Regions from separate parts of the Homo sapiens genome. Here region 1 is linked to region 2. The links are contacts of gene promoters, found by promoter capture Hi-C in blood cells and fetal thymus (Javierre and others, 2016). All regions are on one chromosome and are shown on one strand. The core of a region is centred on a gene start or on the middle of the fragment in contact, and the rest is flanking DNA. Distances in the headings are between cores, read along the strand shown.

Evidence for each region. Contacts are between HindIII fragments. The CHiCAGO score rates a contact against its expected background, and 5 or more counts as called.
Region 1: a contact is called between a fragment that was not itself captured here and the fragment with the promoter of PDE12 in region 2, in 1 of 17 cell types (total B cells). The highest score is 5.4, in total B cells.

Annotation. Positions count from the first base shown.
Region 1 is chr3:56,679,869-56,684,288 of GRCh38, forward strand. TASOR (transcription activation suppressor) reads right to left here and starts at 3,397. Exons shown (of 24, transcript NM_001365635.2): 1 at 2,808-3,397. The coding sequence starts at 3,138. RefSeq lists enhancers at 2,228-3,172, 2,380-2,499, 2,920-3,089 and a silencer at 3,230-3,529. The HindIII fragment of the contact is 596 bases long and covers 2,568-3,163 here.
Region 2 is chr3:57,553,835-57,558,477 of GRCh38, forward strand. PDE12 (phosphodiesterase 12) reads left to right here and starts at 2,440. Exons shown (of 3, transcript NM_177966.7): 1 at 2,440-3,853. The coding sequence starts at 2,546. It also overlaps a transcript of DNAH12 not described here. RefSeq lists enhancers at 1,934-2,713, 3,204-3,373, 4,270-4,643. The HindIII fragment of the contact is 2,707 bases long and covers 578-3,284 here.

The DNA.
Region 1 (4,420 bases), core at 1,616-4,115, 870 kb before region 2:
ATCATGCCTCAGCCAATAAATAACATACATCAAAAACAGTAAAATGTATACCTTTCCAGTCAAAGACGCACTTAGTATGTCAGTACCAACCAAATGTTGATAGTAAACATAATTTCTGAATGTCAAAATTCCCCAAGGATGAAAACATACTAAATATTTCTATATTTAATGAAGGGGGGGAACAGTTTTTGTTACTAACAGGTCAGGTCAAAAGCAGCTAACTTAAACCCTTAGATTATTCAAACTGGGTAGCAAGATTTTTCTTTTTTATAGTAGTAAAAGTACTCTACAACTACCTTCAAATTCCATCTCCACAACTTAGCTGTGTGACCTGAAGCAAGTTACCTAACTTCTCAGTACTTTAGTCTCCTCATCTGTAAAATGGGAATAGTACCTACCACAAAACATTGTTGAGATTTAGTCAATGTATGTAAATTGCTTAGAACAATGCCCACAACTTATTAGGCACTATACAAGTGTTTGCCAATATTATTACTCAATTACAATGGCAGTTATTTTGGATGTCACACTACTGGGAAGACCAAAAAAAGAACTTTCTGAGTCAAGTTGTATTTGCATAGCAGTGACCTTTAAGGTATTAAAATATTTAAGTCCTAATCTTAAATTTCACTGGAAAAGCACAGTCACAAGAAAAGGTCTACCATATTAAAATATGAATGCAACAGAACCTGCACTGTTTTTGAATTTTTTTAATAAAGTTGAATTTATGTATTAAATTCTATCAGCAACCACTAACTTCTCTCAGCTTGAACAAGATAAAATTCATGGTGGTAAAATAGCTGCTTATTTAATTTTTTAAAGTTCTATTTAAATCGCTATTTTACTATTTGAACAGCTGGTGTTCAGGGTATAAATAATTACACAAGTTAAAAATTGCTCATTTTCACTAATCATGACAAAGTCCACTGCGATATATTTTCCTCCCAACTTTTGTCTGTAAGTAAAAATGGAAAATACAAGTTTTACCCAAGAGGTACAAGACTATGGGGGACAACAGCTAGATTTATATTTCCTAATCCCTCAATTATTTCCACTTTTAGTGTGTTCAGCTGAAGTCTATTTTACAACAATCTCTGGATTTTATCTAATTTTAAAAAAACACACAAACACAGTGCCTTTCCAGTTCCTACTGCCTTCCCACATTTCAAACTAAATTTTGAAGAGTTTCTAGGCCAATCTTCTGGTCCTAACAAACAGTAAAAAAAAAAAAAAAAAAATCACGGTTTGTCCATATTCTTAGGCACTTAAACCTTAAAAATAGATTTCAAACGGCTTTTATCAAGCTGTGAAGAAAAAAAATAGTTCCACCTCCTACCTCATAACCAGAGCCCATTTGAATGTACTTCCTACCTATTCTCTACCAATTGATTACACTGGGAACTTTTCTCATACAGACTATAATCATACATCTCAAATTTTAACTAAATACACGAAAAGAACTGAGTTTTGACCTTTAAAAGTATCTTTCTGAACCCTAAAATTACATTAACTCAAAAGATATTTCTAGAAACATTCCTCATGCTAATTTCCAAAGGTTAACTTCATCTTTGTCAACATGGTTTCTCACACCAAGTATTTTCTTGGCTTTGCCATCCAAACAAATGAACTTTATTTGTATTTTTCCAATAAAAGGCTCAAACAATTCCAGTAGTGCAAATGGAACTGGTGATGCTTATGGAAAGTCAGTATAATGCTACAGCCAAGACTCTGTACCAGATGGATGGAAAAGATACGGGAAAAAAACAAATCCTATTTTTTTCCAAAGTAAATAATGAAAACCTAACCATACAGTAGGGCAAAAAGGAAGTTGTCTAAATTCAGAATATCCAAAATTTACTGGATAGTTAAAAAATAATACCCCAATAACAAAAAACGATACTAATTTTGACCTCCATTAGGAATTCTGACTCCATATTAACAATATGGCATTAAGATTTTTTAAAAGTACAAGTAATTAATGTAACTGTTTCCATATGGGTTCCAAAAACTAAGACTGGACTTTTTTTTAACCTGAAGTTCTACCATCTAGAAGACCAAGTTGGTGACTCTTGAGAATAAGGTAACTTCTCATTAGTTTTTTTCCATTGGGAAATTACTGCTCCAAGAACCTACCTTTCCATTCTTTTCAAATATAAGAAAAACAATACTAAGTTCGAATTTAAAGAGAGAAAAACCTATTTAATCTAACGCTTCAAAAACAAGGGGGAAAAATCTACATGGAAATGAAGTGTGATGGAAAACAGCAGTGTGCATGGATCACATCTACTAATAGAGATTTCTAAATAAGGGAGGACGCTGACATCAAGCACATTTCAAGTAGACACACAGAACTGAAGAATTTCCACGGGGAGAAGCACTCATGGTCCTCAGAACATTGGCAATGGCCTTGGAGAAAGCCCCAGAATCCATGGCCACGGGCTATTTCCATAGCGAGACTTCTCAGAAGCATCCTTAGGAGGACACAACGGCTTCTCTGCTTTCAGGGGCTGGGAGGGAGGGGCGCCGAGCACCATCTTTCCTCTCTGGGAGCTGCAGCCTTACGGACAAGCTTCAAACCTGAGCTACTTCCAACTTCCGCGGGGAGGGGCAGCAGGGGAGCGTGGTTCCACCGCTTTCTCTCGCACCAAACGCGGCAGCTGGGCGGCCGTGGCGGTGAGGGGAGAGGCGGCCGGCGCTGCATGCGTGTTTACGTATCTCGGATGGGTGTGGGAAGAGGAGATAGAAAGATTCTAATGAAAAGATGGAGGGGAGAGAGAGAGGGGGTTGAGAAGAAGGGGAGGCACCACCTTTCTTTTCTCTGCTCTTCCTGGGGATCTGAAAACTCCTCCTAACAGGCCTTTCGGGCTCTTCGGGGCCTCTGGGCAGGGCGGCCGCGCCCGCCTCAGAGGAGTCCTGAGGCTGCTCGTGGCTGAGGCTCTGGGCGGCCTCGGCCCCCGCGTTCTCCTCACGCCCAGCGCCGCCGCTGGGCTCAGCGATGTTGAGGCCGCCGCCGCCGCCATTTTGTTGGGAGGACTCAAGCTCCGGAAGCGCCTGCTTCATCTCGTCGTCTCCGCCGCCGCCACTTTCCCAACTCGCATCCGTCGGCTGACAGGCCTCCGTCTCCACAGCAGTCGCCATCGCGCCGGCCTAAGGAGCTCTGGGAAGCTTCTGCCCACAAGGTCGACGGGTGTGGGGGGAAGGGGCGGCGGGCCAGTCTCGCCGCCGAGCTGCTCTCAGCCCACCCACCCCCTTCCCCCCGTGGCCTCAGGCTGCGCTCCCGACCTGGCAGCCTCTTGGGGGGCCCTGTAGCGGGCACCCCAAATGCGCTGCCCGGTCCTCGGAGCCGCTCCTCCCTCGGGCAGTTCTTCTGCCTTCCCCCGCCACTCAACGTGCGCGCGTCGGGGCCGGGAGGGGGCGGGGCCACCGCGGGCCACTCCACCAATGGGAGCGCGGCACCCGCCTGCGCGAGTGCGGAAATACCGCGCCGGGGGGCGGAGTTTCGGGGCGCCCGAGCCCGCCAAAAGGGGCGACCGCAACGCCCCGCGAGGACCTCGACGCCGCAGCCGTGGCCTGCGGAATGCGTGGGCCCCTGGCGATCTTCGGGTTCCCGGGGATTCCCCCGCCGCGCTGCAGGCGAGGGAGACTAGCTTGGCCTCTTCTCCGGAGCGCAGGCGTCGCCCATTTGTGGGCAAAACCCTTCCTCTGCGCACGAGTTATCTCGGCCCAAACGGGCTTCAGAGCAGTGGATGCGGGACGATCTCGGTTTTATGAACTATTTGCATGTGTACAAAAACCTGGAGAGGAGATAAAAGAATGGGCTAGGCGGTAATAGCCTAAAAGCCTCGACAGCCTTTGCGACCTGCTATTCTCACCGGATCTTGTATCTTTATGATAGATTACTCGCACCCGGCCTTCTCTTTTATCTCAGAGAGTGTGACCCAGTGTCACAGCTCCAGCAAGCACTTTCACCTGAGATCCTCTGATGGGACTTAACAACCTAGTGTTAACAGGATTTGGTTCTGGGGAGTTTGAGGGGAGGAGGCTGTTAACTTTTCCCATTTTTTTCCTTTAGTCGCACCCCCCCCCACCACACGCCATGGAGACCGCACCTGGCCTCCATTTGTTCCCTTTCTATGGTTACTTCTGTTAAAAATCTGGCCACTGATAAACCTCTAACTCCACTGTTTCTTCCACTGGAACGTTCATCAACGTTTTCCTATAGTAAATGTATATTAAAGAAAAAATAAACTTGCGGTCACATTAAAAAATACACAGCAGGTCGTCGCTCTCCCATAAAGGGAACAACTTCATAGTTAAGAGCCCTTTACATAGTGGTTTCTACCTTATCAGTATAAACTATCACGGGTTATCGTGAGTACAGCCAATATTTACTGAGTGCTTTCTACGTGCTAGACACGGA
Region 2 (4,643 bases), core at 1,190-3,689:
TTTTTTTTCCGAGACAGAGTCTTGCTGTCTCCCAAGCTGGAGGGCAGTGGCGCGATCTCGGCTCACTGCAACCTCTGCCTCCCAGGTTCAAAAGATTGTCCTGCCTCGGCCTCCTGAGTAGCTGGGATTACAGGCGAACACCACTGCGCCCGGCTAATTTTTGTATTTTTAGTAGAGACAGGGTTTCACCATGTTTAGTAGAGATAATGAAACCCCGTCTAATTTTTGTATTTTTAGTAGAGACGGCGTTTTAACATATTTAGTAGAGACAGTGAAATTCCATCTCTACTAAAAATACAAAAATTAGCCAGACATGGCAGTGCACACCTGTAATCTCAGCTACTTGGGAGGCTGAGGCATGAGAATCGCTTGAACCCGGGAGGTGGAGGCTGCAGTGAGCCGAGATCACACCACTGCACTCCAGCCTGGGTGACAGAGTGAGGCTCCATCTCAAAAATAAAAAAATAAAAAAATAATTACATGGAGGCCAATGACAATTACAGTATCAAACACCTTTTTTCTTGCAATTAAAACCAAATGTTTTTAGCTTTTCCCCTTTCAAGAAAATGAAAATTAAAGCTTTTCCATAATTGCAAGCAAAACAACTCTAATGGCCCTCTTAGAAGAAATCCAGAACTTCATACTATGGCTTAGAATGCACTACACAATTTGGTGGATGCATATCTTTCTTATCTGCTACTCTCCCCTGGTCTCACCTTACTCATCACACTGGACCTCTTTCTGGTCTACAGGTAAAGCAATTCATTCGTTCTTCAAGACCTTTTTTTGTTTTGTTTTGAGACGGAGTTTCACTCTTGTTGCCCAGGCTGGAGTGCAATGGCATGATCTCAACTCACTATGACCTCCATCTCCCAGGTTCAAGCGATTCTCCTGCCTCAGCCTCCCTAGTAGCTGGGATTACAGGTGTGCGCCACCATGCCCAGCTAATTTTTTGTATTTTTAGTAGAGACGGGGTTTCACTATGTTGGCCAGGCTGGTCTCGAACTCCTGACCTTAGGCGATCCACCCGCCTCAGCCTCCCAAAGTGCTGGGATTACAGACGTGAGCCACTGGGCCCGGCGTCTTTAAGACCTTTAAAAGAAATAGCAATAAAGTGCACGATTCCTTAGGCCAGGGGAGGTGGTTTTCACTTGTTATCCCAGAATTTTGGGAGGGTAAGGCGGGGGGCTTGCTTGAGGCCAGGAGTTCGCGACCAGCCCAGGAAACATGGTGAAGCCCTTCTCTACTAAAATACAAAAATTAGCTGGGCGTGGTGGTGTGTGCCTGTAGTCCCAGCTACTTGGGAGGCTGAGGCACGAGAATCGCTTGAACTCTGGAAGCCGAAGTTGCAGTAAGCCAAGATCGCACAGCTGCACTCCAGCTTGGGTGAAAGAGCAAGGCCCTACCTAAAAAATAAAAAAATAAAATAAACAGATAAACAACTATTTCTTAATATATGCCCCATTATTATTCCTTATCTGAAATTGAATTTAACTGAGATCCTGTAATTTTATTTGTTAAATGTAGTAACTAAATAGAGTCTTCCTATTTACTAACTAAAAATAAACACTGGGTGGCTCTTGCCTGTTTGTACTTGAGAGGGTTAGGCGGGAGGATCGCACGAGCCCTGGAGTTCGAGGGGGCAGTGAGCTATGATCAGGCCACTGCACTCCAGCTTGGGCGTCAAAGTGACAACCTGTCTCTAATAAAAAATAACAAACAGCCTTCCGCAGTTTGTCAGTACTATTTCTTTCTGCCAATTAATAGTTGTGTGACCCTGAGCAGGTAATATCTCGGGACTCTGCATCTGTAAAGCGATGGATAAAGAGACCTACCTCATAAGAACTATGAGGCTTAAATAAGATAGTGTGTGTAGCGTTTCTCGCATAGTCTGCGCTCACTAAACGGAGTTATTGTATATCGTTCGTTGTTAACTACCACAAAGGCTCTGCTCAGAGGTGCGTAGGCGCTGGCTCAGCCTGGGGTGAACCCACCAGGCCACCGAAACGAGCGATCAGGGTCGGCAAAGCTGTGGAGATGAAATGGGCAACACCTTCCACACTGCGAGTAAAGCTCGCAATCCGGGTGGAGGCCTCCACGTCCTAGCGCAGTCCAGTCCCGGGCGCAGGGAGGAGAGCTGGTCAGCCAAGATTCCAAGACAGGTGTCCACCTCCTCCAACGAAGCGGAACACGTGACACCACCCTATCCACTTCCGGCTTGGAGGGCATGCCCTCCCGTCACCAGCATGCACTTTCGACAAAACCGTGGAATCTAGTATTTTCCTCTGACACCTTTATATTTTCTTCACTTCCCTATAATTCTGACCTATCGTGTAGGTAAAAATTAATCTTCAGAGTATTACAGACATGCGTGCCCACGCGCTAGGCGAAAGTGCGAGTCGGAAGCACTTCATTCCCTCTCTTCGCTAGCCGGAAGTCGCGAGATCTGAATGAGTCAAAGCCGGCGGCCTCGGCTCCTCAGCTCCACCTGACAGTAGGCCGCTGATCGGCCGCGGGTCTTGTCGACCGCTAGGCCACCAGGTTCATGTGGAGGCTCCCAGGCGCCCGCGCCGCGCTTCGGGTGATCCGGACGGCGGTGGAGAAGCTGAGCCGGGCTGAAGCGGGGAGCCAGACAGCGGCGGGAGCGATGGAGCGCGCTGTAGTGCGCTGCGTACCTTCGGAACCCAAGCTGAGCCTGTCATTCGCTTTGGCTGATGGTAGCCACAAGAACATGCAGCGCGACCAGAGCGAGCCGCTGGGTCGAGTCCTCAGCCGCATCGCTACCAATGCCCTAAAGGGTCACGCTAAGGCGGCCGCCGCCAAGAAGAGCAGGAAGAGCCGGCCGAATGCTAGCGGCGGTGCGGCCTGTTCAGGGCCGGGGCCTGAGCCGGCTGTGTTCTGCGAGCCCGTGGTGAAGCTGTACTACCGGGAAGAGGCAGTGGCTGAGGACGTGCTCAACGTGGATGCCTGGCAAGACGGCGCGGTGCTGCAGATCGGCGATGTTAAGTACAAGGTGGAGCGCAACCCGCCCGCCTTCACCGAACTGCAGTTGCCGCGCTACATCATGGCCGGGTTCCCTGTGTGCCCCAAACTCAGCCTCGAATTTGGGGATCCCGCCAGCTCCCTTTTCCGCTGGTATAAGGAAGCCAAGCCCGGAGCGGCGGAGCCCGAGGTCGGTGTCCCCTCGTCATTGTCTCCCTCCTCACCTTCTTCTTCTTGGACTGAGACTGATGTGGAGGAGCGTGTCTACACCCCGTCCAATGCCGACATCGGGCTAAGGCTCAAGCTTCACTGCACCCCAGGCGATGGGCAGCGCTTTGGGCACAGCCGGGAGTTGGAAAGTGTGTGTGTGGTAGAGGCTGGGCCTGGCACCTGCACTTTTGACCACCGGCATCTCTACACGAAGAAGGTGACTGAGGACGCTCTCATCCGCACTGTCTCTTACAACATCCTGGCAGACACGTACGCGCAGACTGAGTTCTCGCGAACGGTTCTGTACCCATACTGTGCCCCCTACGCCCTGGAGCTCGACTACCGCCAGAACCTTATCCAGAAGGAACTCACCGGCTACAACGCCGATGTCATCTGTTTGCAGGAGGTTGACCGCGCAGTGTTTTCTGACAGCTTGGTACCCGCCCTAGAGGCCTTCGGGCTCGAGGGGGTGTTTCGAATCAAGCAGCACGAAGGCCTGGCCACTTTCTACCGAAAGTCTAAGTTCAGCCTTCTTAGCCAGCATGACATTTCATTCTACGAAGCCCTCGAGTCCGACCCACTTCACAAAGAACTGCTGGAGAAACTAGTTTTGTACCCATCAGCGCAGGAGAAGGTGCTCCAGAGATCTTCTGTTCTTCAGGTAAAGTAGTTCCGCCCGTCTCTTCACATACTGTCCCACTTTTAGGGGCCAGGAAGGCGAGGAATGAGGTGGGGGTTAAAAGTGCGATGAAAGTATCCAGATATTGTTGAAAGGTGTGTTTGCCCTTGTATCTTCAGCACAAAGTTTACTCTTCATTCATTCAGCAGATATTTTTTGAACACCTCTGGTGTGCCTGCCATACTGCAGGTTGCCTTGAACAAGACTAGCAGGGACTTTTACAGTGCTTACAATCTAGCGAGAGGGACACACGCTAAATGCAAGAACAATAGTAGCTAATGTTTTTTACTACTTGCCAAGCACTGTTCTGGCACATTTTAAAGTACTTAAAATTTAAGAGCGTGGTGTGTTTTGAAGTGCTCCATAAATATAAACTAGTTTTTTTTAAATCATAGGCTCATTGAATCTTCACAGTAAGTCCCCTATTCCCATTTTATAGATGTCATTCTTGTGTTAAAGTTTTTAAGTAATTGATTTTGTTCATAATAAGAAGAGCAGCTACCATTTTTTAAGTACCTAAGGTGTTTCATGCACCTTATAAGATCATTTAATTGACTCCACACAACAGCCCATGAGGTGGATGGTATTGTCAGTGACTGCCAGTACGAAACTGGCTAGAAAAGCATCTTTTTGCAGGTCACATTGCTATAAATGGTGAAATGAGTATTCAAACCCAGGTCTGCCTGACTCCAAAGCCTGTGCTTACGCTTGAAAACACTTTCTCCAGTCAAAGTGTTGTCATGTAAAATGTATTGTTTATATTACTAGCTTT